2 separate regions of the Homo sapiens genome follow, and region 1 is linked to region 2. Evidence: promoter capture Hi-C in 16 types of primary human blood cells and fetal thymus (Javierre and others, 2016). All regions are on one chromosome and are shown on one strand. Each heading gives the region's core, a stretch centred on a gene start or on the middle of the fragment in contact. The rest is flanking DNA. Distances are from core to core; before and after follow the strand shown. Region 1 overlaps SERP2 (stress associated endoplasmic reticulum protein family member 2). Region 2 holds the start of SMIM2 (small integral membrane protein 2).

Region 1 (5,530 bases), core at 416-2,915, 220 kb after region 2:
GAAACATTACTAAAACTTGTTCAACATTTCAAAAACTTACATCCTTGATGATAGCACCACTCGTTTTTTTTGAAACACTATTACATACCTTCAGTCTGAATGTCAAGCTGTGGTATTTGTATGGATATGAACATACCTTTTAGCCCATATTTTACAATGTTGAATACAATGTTTAAATGTCAACAACATTTAATTGAAATCTGGAATTGGGTTTTATGAGATCAACCACAAATCAATACTTGTGAACATTCCACTCTACCAACACGTTTTTCTTTGTGTGTTTTGCATGTGAATTCTTTAACGTGTGTTGAATGCAGCCTATTTTTCAAGCTAATCAGAAAATAATTAGTGAGTTCTTTGTTGTTGTTTTTTTTTTCACTCTCCCATTCTATTTGAGAAATTCACTTCTTTTCTGATGCATCTCTCAGAAAATATTTGTTGTTCTGACTGATTTGGGTTTAAGGACCAAGCCCTACCTGCACATAGACCTGGAGGTGTTGTGGAGGGAAGATCTTATTATGTCTGTGCTTTTGGTTTGAAAAAGCAGGAGGTCTGTAGGGCTTCATTCATGCAGTTTTGACAGTCCCCTTCTGCTTCCCAGAGAATTCAGAGACTTCTCCCAAGTGCAAGCTTTATTAAGGCTTAGGAGCTTTATTACAAAATGCTGCTTCACTCATAACCATTCACAATTGCTGTGGTGCTTCTGTTGTTGCAAGGATTTCCACTGTACTGACTTCCTAATTTGGGGTTATGTAAAAGGTTTTCAGAAAATGTCTGTGCTCTCTGATCCTGCTTGGAATTCACAGATGCAAAAACTAAATATTGAATCTGTTAATGGAAAATACTCAGGCTTTATAATGAGGCAGACCTAAATTTGAATCCCAGCTCTTGCTCAAGTTAACAAACTTTGAGCCTCAGTTTCTCAACTCCAAAATGGAAATAATAATACTTGCCAGAAATAATGAATGCAGACTGCCTAGTGTAGTGCCTGGCACAGAGCATTACTCAGCAGATGGAAAGTTATTATTAATATCATTTTGGTTCCTAAATCGCCATATTGGTTTATGTATTCATACCATATCTGTCCCCAGAATATTTAAGACCACCAAGTTCACTGAGTTACAGGGATGTTAATAAGGTTATGGATGAATTTTTACAAACCTGTCTCAATCCTTTTAATGGACTTCATTCATCTATATCTGTCCACTGAGGGATTGAAACCAAGTCTGTCTCATTCGCAGTAGAATCCCCAGCACCTAGCACAATGCCTAGTGATACTCAAATAATTGTTTATTGAGTCAATGAACCTAATCTTACTTTTTCCCATTCCCTTTTAGAGGCCGCAAGAGGAGAAATATCCTGTGGGACCATGGCTGTTGGCACTGTTTGTTTTTGTTGTCTGTGGCTCAGGTATGGGTGTTTCACTGAACTTATATCCCATGTTCTCCACTGGCCTTTGAAAAACACACGTTTTCTTCACAAAGCAAATAGATGAAAAACATACTGGTATGGGATTCAAGTTTATCACTGCCTTAAGCCTTAATCTTAATGGGTTTTGATTTAGTTTCTATTCCAAATATAGGTAGAGACACAATTAATACACTATCAAATCCTAATCATAAAATGATTACACTGAGTAGTTAAAGTGGCTGTATACACTGTAGAGTTCAGTAAAGTCTTTTTGTGCAGACATAGCCTTAAAAGGGCATTAGAACAGAAGGTGAAACACCTGTGTGCCTGTGATAAATCCACATTCCGAGAAAGGGAGAGGCCTTATGCCTTATGAGAAAGTTCTGCAGAGCTCCTAGATACAACTTCCTAGATACAACTGAGCCTTTGACCCAAGCCTTAAGGTATGGGTCACCTGATACTGTAAGGTGGCAAGTTGAGAGCTTTACTTACACACATGCAGATACACACATACACACAAATGCAGGGAAGATGAGCAGAAGCATCGTGCCATTGTTTCTAGTTACATGCTGAACTAGCCTTGACATGGTTCCTGATCCCCATATGTTGGGTCTCAGAAATCCTTGTGAGTGGAGGTCACTTCTTCTAACTACACAGCATGCCTTGAGGGATTCCCACCCTCCAGCATCTCACTGTTACTGAGGGCAGGGAGGCAGAAGGTCCACATCTTCCTGCTCAGGCTTAGGCCTCCCAGCAAGACAGCCTCTGCCCCAATGACAAGAGAAGCCCATGACTAAAGATGAATCATGCATTCAAACCTAAAATCATGAAAATTAAAAAAAAAATTTAAGATGGATCAGTTCCTTTTATCTTCAAGAGACCACTCTTCCAAAGAAGCAAAAACTCTTAGGAGGAAGGAAGGATCCAAAGTACTTGGCATTATTGTTGCTTGTGGCTCAAATATTTTAAAGATGATTTGGCATTCCAAGATGAGAAAATCTTACACTCAAAGAAAGACAGTTCTACTCTATTCCCAAAGAAGTATCTTTAAGGACATCTTTTAAACAGCTGTTTACCCAATCCCTATTTGAATACTTCTTCAAAAAGCCTATTCCATGTCTGCTGGAATTCTATTAGAAATGTCTCTCCTGTTTTGAATTACACTATGCTGTCTTCTCAGTTGTTCAGATTTGAACTCCTAGGGTAACACAGAATGGACTCGTTCTCCTCTAAGCACCTTGAATCATCAGATATTTTAAAGATGACTGCCTGGTGGCTCCTTCTGCAAACTAAGCTTCCCTAAATCTCTCGACCTTGCCTCATAAGATGTGGTTTCTAGACTCCTCTTCTGGATCTGCTCAATGACTTTCTTAAAGGGTAGCATTTGGCAGCGCATGCCTGTAATCCCAGCTACTTGGGAGACTGAGGCAGGAGAATCACTTGAACCCAGAAGGCAGAGGTTGCCATGAGCCAGAGATCGCGCCATTGCACTCCAGCCTGGGCAACAAGAGTGAAACTCCGTCTCAAAAAAAAAAAAAAAAAAAAAAGCCAGGCGCAGTGGCTCACGCCTGTAATCCCAGCACTTTGGGAGGCCGAGGTGGGGAGGATCACAAGGTCTGGAGTTCGAGACCATCCTGGCCAACATGGTGAAACCCTGTCTCTACTAAAAATACAAAAAATGAGCTGGACATGGTGGCACGCGCCTGTAGTCCCAGCTACTCAGGAGGCTGAGGCAGGAGAATCACTTGAACTGCAGAGGTGGAGCTTGCAGTGAGCCGAGATCGTGCCACTGTACTCCTTCCTGGGCAACTGAGCGAGACTGCGTCTCAAAAAAAAAGTATAGCATTTGCAACTGCAGAAGGTGGTCTAGAAGCAGTGTGACCACCACAGAGGCAGTAGGATTGTCACTGCCCTTGATTTTGCTCACCACTCTGCCTCTATTAATGTGACCCAGGCTTGCAGTTACTTTTTAACAGTTGCAGCACATCCTTGACTCACGTCTAGCTGATGGCCAGCCAGATGCCACCCAGCTCTTCCTCAGATAAACTTCCTGCAACCCCGGAAACACATCTACATACCCCTTTATCCCAAGTCTCTCCTGTCTCCATCACATATTATTTTATTTTACTCATGACCCTCATCAGCAGTTGCAGTTATTTAGTTTACTTACTTAGGTTCATTTCCCTCCAGTAGGATATAAGCTCAGGGGAGACAGTGTTTATTTTTCATTAAATTTGTAGATCCTAGTTTAGTATTTAGCACATAGTTAGTGCTTAGGATGGATGGATGGATGGATGGATGGATGGATGGATGGATGGATGGATAAAGCCAGATATTCCTCATACTGTAGATATCTAGTTGACCTTTTTTGAGACCTAATATAAAACTTTATGACTTTTTTTTTTATTCTCAAAGAAGAACGATTACTTCTATTAAAATTTTAGGCTGGGCGCGGTGGCTCACGCCTGTAATCCCAGCATTTGGGAGGCCGAGGCGGGCGGATCATGAGGTCAGGAGATAAGACCATCCTGGCTAACACGATGAAGCCCCGTCTCTACTAAAAATACAAAAAAATTAGCCGGACCTGGTGGCAGGTGCCTGTAGTCCCAGCTACTTAGGAGGCTGAGGCAGGAGAATGGCGTGAACCAGGGAGGTGGAGCTTGCAGTGAGCCGAGATTGTGCCACTGCACTCCAGCCTGGGCGACAGAGCGAGACTCCGTCTCAAAAAAAAAAAAAAAAAAAAAAGAACAAAATAAAAACAAACAAAACTATGCCTTTATCATACCACAGGAAAATCAAGAAAATAAACCTGTACAAAAAAGTTAGCTATGTTTTCAGGCTGTATGACCAGTCTGTAGATTGTCAGACCTTGAACTTTAAGCCTCTGATCTACTTACCCTTTTTTCCCAGTGTTATGGTCCCTGAAAATATATTATTCTTCCAAGTCACTGATAAAAGTCTAGACTTGGAGAAACCCACAGAACACAATCAGAGACAACCTCTTTCAGGTTGACTTTGAGCCTCTAAGCAAAACTCATTCAAGCAATCATCATGTCTTGAGGGTCCCCTCTGTGCCTGGCACTGTGCCGGGCTTTGGAAATACAATCCTGTTTGGGTACTTGCAGGCATTGGGAGAGGCAGATAAGGAAGCTGTCAGTTGCAGCCCAGGGAAAGCGCACTGCGATAGTGACAGCAGAGTTTACAGGGTGCTTGGCTGGCATGGATAAGGAACTTCTAAATCATACTCAGCAGAAGAGAAAGTTTCCAAGGGGAGGTGCTGTTTGAGCGGAGTCTTGAAGAACAAACAGCCAGACAAAGGGTGTGAGGAAGGTGATTCTGCATGGGAACACTATGTGGCGGTGGCATGGTGGCTTCAGAGAATGTGCTGGGCTCAAGAATATAAGGTGCTCAGAATGGCCAAAGCCTACTCTCAGGCATCCCTGAGCCCCGTGACCATGCCACCTGTATTGTCAAGGGTCTAAGTAGATAAAGATATATATAGGCTTCAAGATACACAGTAACTGTGGCCTTCTCCAGTCTGCCCCCTTAGGCAGCCTATAAGGGAAAAAGCCAGTAGAGTCATTTGGCGTGGCTTATTTTTCTCAAACCCATGCCAACTCTCAAAACCCATCTCTTCCTTTTTGGAGGGTTTAAAAAACTATTATATGGCCTAAACTTTTGCCTGGCTTACCAGCCCATGCAGCAGGACCTGTATCTTTCCCTCTTGGGTAAATTGGGACATTTGCTAACAAGCATCTTTTAGAACTCTCCTGGTCTCCAGCAGTTTCCTAGGGATTGAGTATGTTAGCTCCACCTCTCTGGAGGTTTGCGTTTTTTTTGTTTTTTTTTTTTTGAGACAGAGTCTCGTTCTATTGACAGGCTGGAGTGCAGTGGCGCAATCTCGGCCCACGGCAACCTCCACCTCCCAGGTTCAAGCGATTCTCCTGCCTCAGCCTCCTGAGTAGCTGGAACTGCAAGCACGCACCACCATGCCCAGCTAATTTTTTTTTTTTTTTTTTAGTAGTGACGGGGTTTCACCATGTTGGCCAGAATGGTCTTGATCTCTTGACCTCATGATCCGCCCACCTTGGCCTCCCAAAGTGCTGGGATTACAGGCATG
Region 2 (5,058 bases), core at 657-3,156:
CTGTGATGCAGAAGCTCTCCCCTTGTGAACAACCAACACAGGAAGTAGTGAAACCTGGTAGAGAGAATATTATCTTTCTCCACCTTCAATTATACCAGAACTGCCTCCAGGGACTTTGGCAGGTTTGACAAATGGCAGAAGAATTTAGAAGATTTTCTTTGCTGGCAAAGGGAGCCAATGGTTGGGCACAAATGTGCTGCTGCGGTTGTTTGTACAATGAAACTCTAGATTGTAGGCAGAAATGTCAGGTTCCTTTCAACTCTCTTCAGAGCTAATCTAGTTCCCATGTGCAAACTCAATCTATAGCATTTGGGTAAAGAATACTCAGTCCTCTGCTGTGACAAGAACAAATTCATCACCCACACCATACATTGTAGCTAAGGGCATCATCGTGCCCACATGAATCACCAGGCAGAGACGGCTGCCAACTCTGAAATTCTTTACTCATGGAAGACTCACGTATACTAATGCCGACTATTTACGCAAGCACATTTCTCCAGGTGGCCTGGAGCAGTTTACAAGATGCTGGCTCATTCCTCATCATGCCACTTGGAAGGAGAGCAAAAGGTGGGGAAAGAGGAAGGGCCAACATCATCATCTGCATTTTATGTGGGGAAACTGAGGCTCACATAAGCCGTAAAGTGAAATGTATAGACATTTATGAGTCAGAAATCGACCATGGAAGAGGCAAAATGAGCTTATCTGAATCATGAGTGGACTATTTCTTGCCCAACAATTTCATGCAGCTCTTCCAACACAACTGTTTTGATACAGCAGCCTCAAAACAAGCCAAAATTCAGACTCGCTGTATTTGGTTTATAACCAGTTTCCCATCTTTCATTCCTTCTCTGACTTCTACCTGACTTCTGAATTTGGTTGACCCTGTTTTTTTGTTTGTTTGTTTGTTTTGTTTTACTTTAAAAGACCCTCAACCCTCCTGGAGTCCTGACCTGCTATTTCTTTCATTTTGAACCTCTACCAGTCCTTTCCTTCATCTGTTACCAATCCATACACCCTTGATGCCTGGAGGTAAGATTGACAATGGAGGGGGGGAGGTGAAGATCAAGGTTGAGGTGAAGCTCACAGATGGCCTGCAAGATGCCTATTTTACTCATCATTTATTTTTTAAAAAGCTGAACATTTATCGGCTGAATCTTTGAGCCATACCAAAATATCCTCATGTCAAAATAGCTGCAGTAAAGTGGTTCTATTAAAATAGCTGCCTCCAAAGAACTGAGAGTGGAGATGTCACCTGCTTCTGGCACCTGACTTTGGTCCTCTTCTGCGTGGCATTGCCTTCTGCTCTGCTGGATTCTGGCGTATGGCTCATCAGAGGAGGCACTAACATCAGGGCTGCCTTTTATCTTGCTGATCCAAGCGAGGACTATGTAGGTGTCACAGATGAAACTCGTCCAGAAGCCGAACAGGATGCTAATGGCATGGCCACGTGTTTCCAGCACCCTGTGAGGCAGCTGGCTGGCATCAATCCTCTCCCCAGCTTCCATCCCACCCCCATCCACCCATAAGCTCTTCTTGGGTCAGAAATGCAATTCTTTGATGGTGCCAGACAGCCAGATGATGCTGGAAAGAAGAAAGAAAAAGAAAAAGCAGGTTTCTAAATTAAGCACAAGGCTCGTTTATAAAAATAAATAGCCACAGCCTAGCAACGTGCTCACAGCTCAGCTTTCCTCCGTAATAAAACCTCTGTGGCTGAAGCCTGGGATGACACAGCCTTCAGAGGGCCCCACGCCCTGGCCCTCCTCATGCCCTGGCCTCTCCCAGGATAATACTCACCTGGAGAGTGCTGACAGTGGTACTTTTGGGGCCCCACTCTTCATTCAAGGCCAACCAAAGGCCAGGCTCCAAAAAGCAGAAGGAAGGCAGAGCTTAATGAGGCCCATGAACACTTACAGACTCTTGGCAGTAACTAATACACCTGTAGCAAAAGTGGTTGAAGTTCCTTGGGCTACTCTGTTGAAATAGGAACTTCTAGTTAAGACCATGTCTTCTTTGTTCACCATTGAACAGTACTCAGCTAAGCACAGGGCACGTATTGAGTACTCAACCAGTATGTGAGGAAAGACTGGTTAGAGGTATAAATGAATGAATGAATGTTGCCATCCCATTATTGATGCTCTCCAAACTCTTCACTACAAATGGAGTCAGTTCCAGAATCCAAAGCCAGCATTCTTCTCCTGATTATGACATGCACCAAAGAGGCATCCCCTGAGCTGGATGTTTAAATCAGAGCCCACAGCTGAAGTGAGCACCAAGATGTACTGAGCAAGTGTGGACTCTTACTGATCCAAGTGGTGAGGCTCTTACAATGGGCAAGGGCAGAGGGCATGCGATATGTAGGTAACTATTGTTAGCATTCCTGAATCTTCTCCTGTTCTTTAGGCAGCAGCAGCTTCAAGGGTGAACTGTTGCTCAGCAGAGAAATGGCAGGAAAAAATAGGACATTCGCTTCTGGCCTTAGTCCTGTTGGAACACAAAAAGTGGAGTCTGCAATGCTGTTGGAGGCTCAACAGGTCAAATACATCAGTAATGGGCATGGTATGGCTGGGGTCATACGGAGACAGTCCTTAGAGCACTGAAAATGTGATCATCCTGAATCCCATAAGGATCCTTATGAGGTTAGAAGGGACAATGTGGCTCCACTTTGATGACTGACAGCAGTTGCTTTGGTGAGTTTCTACGTATTCCCTTGTGATCAGAGAGTGGTACAGGACAGCATGTCAAAATCGTAAACCACCATCTCAGAGCAAGGCCCCTTAGTTACAATATTAAAAAGATCAGAGAAATTGGCACATAGCATCATTTAGAAATCTGTCTTCAGGCATCTTTGTCTGGCCTGGCTGGAAATAGTAAAACCATATTTATGTCATTGAGAAAAAGGTTCTTAATTAAATTCAAATGTATAAGAATATATCGTAGGTCTATTTTTGGAACAATAATCTGGGAACAAAAAAAAATCTAAACAGCAACAAAACTTGTACAATAGCATTTAGCTTCAGACAGCAGCATACAATAGAGAAGAAGGAGTCCTCATAGACTCTGGACTCTTAGATTGATTCAATCCCACAAGCTAGAGCACCAAAGTCATGGCACTGGGACATTTAGGAAGAGGAACTCTAGCAGTGACCTGATTAGGAGACAGCTCCAGCAGAGAGTCAGCACATAGACTGGCCAAGCTGCCCCCAGATCTTTGGTGATATCTCTTTGGTGGAGATAAAGGAAGCCCTTTCCAAAGCAGACCAATTATGGCATCCACAACCATAGTCCCTGCTCCAGCCTAGTGAGGACACAGTATGTTCCATAAGTCCCTAAGGCTCTATGCCCAGGGCTCCCACTTCTGACACGGCTGCTCAAGGATAAGACCCCACTGACCCCATTCTCTATGGAGGGTACAGAAATCCATAAGAACAGAGCCCAATACTCAGCTCTGTGACCTTAACTACTTGGAAACTGATTTTCTTTGTTCATAAAATAGAGAGAGTAAAAATAATGCTTTCTATCTCCCAAGAGTGTACGAGGATCAAATGAAACACTATTATGTTCAAGTGCTTCCCAGTCTGCAAGCTATTGTTCCATGTGACCATGTTTTATAAAATGTAAAGGTATACAGTGAGAAGTTTGCTTCTGATGTGAGGATTGAGACTTCCTTTGTCACAAACTTTTAGGGTGCTGTCTGGTTCCATCTTATTCATAATACTATTTTTTTTTCAGAGACCCCTAGCCATTTCCTTGGCTTCAAATACCAAAGACCTAGCATTTCAAAATTGTGTTTCTGTAACTGCTTCTTTCCTCTTACAATCCCTCAGAAAGTGCTGCAATTCTAGAATGCATGAGGAACCTTGGGGCTCACAAAGTCCACCACTTCACTTTGCAGATGTACACACAGAGGCACAGAAAGTTTAGGCACTTGTCCAAGGTCACGTGTGGAGTTTCACTCACCCTATCCTCAGCTTCTCCCACAGCCTGCCAGTGTCTGCCCTCCAGTGGGTCTTTGAGGGCCACAATTCAGATTCCACTCTTCCGCAGCTGGGACATCCATCTTCTGCCCTCGGACATCAGAGCTCCTTGTCCTCAGGCCTTCAGACTCCAGGGTTTACACCAGCAGCATTCCCCCGCTGGTTCTCAGGCCTTTGGTCTTGGACTGAATTACACTATCAGCTTTCTTGGGTCTCCAGCTTGCAGGTGGCATATTGTCACTCCATAATTGCATGAGCCAATTTCTATAATAAATCCCTTCTTAGATAGATAGATAGATAGATAGATAGATAGATAGATAGATAGACAGATGGTAGATAGTAGATGCATACATACATACATACATACATACATATCCTATTGGTTCACTTTCTCTGGAGAACCTTGACTGATACAGATTTTGGTGCTACACTCCCTCAATACTGACCATATTTTCCCACTTTTAAGTGAGTAATTGTTACTTAAGCTAGGTGTGTTATTTAGGATGTGAGGGATGGGGAGCCGGAGGATGGTAGACAGTTGAGGGCAAGTGGATTAAAGCATGGCAGTAATGGGAACAGGCACCTCTGTGATCATGATGCCTCATCTTAGATTATACCTTTGGAATTTGCCTTTTGTTTTTGAAAAAATAAATATATAACCATTTCATTTTTGTAGTTATTCGTAATAATTTGCTTCCTCACAGAAATGGCAGAATACATTCATGCAAAGCATATAAATGCACCCAAGTTGTTGTTGAGTTGTTTTAAAAGAATGTATTAAGAAGTAGGATTTGTTAAGTGACAATTCTTCTACCATCGGCCCACCTTCCTCTCTGCAGATGACCTTGTATCTACCCAGTAAAGAAAATATGAGGTTATTTTGTGTGAAACACCCCCATCACCCCTACACCTACCTATCCATATGAAGCCAAATTCTCCTCCTCCTTCCCTCCTCCCCAAACCACCTACTCATACAAAGAAGGGTCTTTCTTTCTGTCTGTAATTACAAATCTACATGTGTGTTAGACCTACGGTGACCAATGATCCTGGCTTACTCAGGACTGAGGAGATTTCTGGGACACAA

What was found. Contacts are between HindIII fragments. The CHiCAGO score rates a contact against its expected background, and 5 or more counts as called.
Region 1: a fragment that was not itself captured here is called in contact with the fragment with the promoter of SMIM2 in region 2 in 1 of 17 cell types (total B cells); the score reaches 5.0 in total B cells.

The regions. Positions count from the first base shown.
Region 1 is chr13:44,378,304-44,383,833 of GRCh38, forward strand. It overlaps SERP2 (stress associated endoplasmic reticulum protein family member 2), which reads left to right. Exons shown (of 3, transcript NM_001010897.3): 2 at 1,338-1,410. Among named protein-coding and RNA genes, the nearest start is that of SERP2, 7.2 kb to the left of the region's middle. The HindIII fragment of the contact is 2,074 bases long and covers 629-2,702 here.
Region 2 is chr13:44,159,351-44,164,408 of GRCh38, forward strand. It overlaps SMIM2 (small integral membrane protein 2), which reads right to left and starts at 1,907. Exons shown (of 3, transcript NR_197392.1): 1 at 1,795-1,907; 2 at 1,253-1,581. RefSeq lists an enhancer at 1-1,038. The HindIII fragment of the contact is 6,510 bases long and covers 1-5,058 here.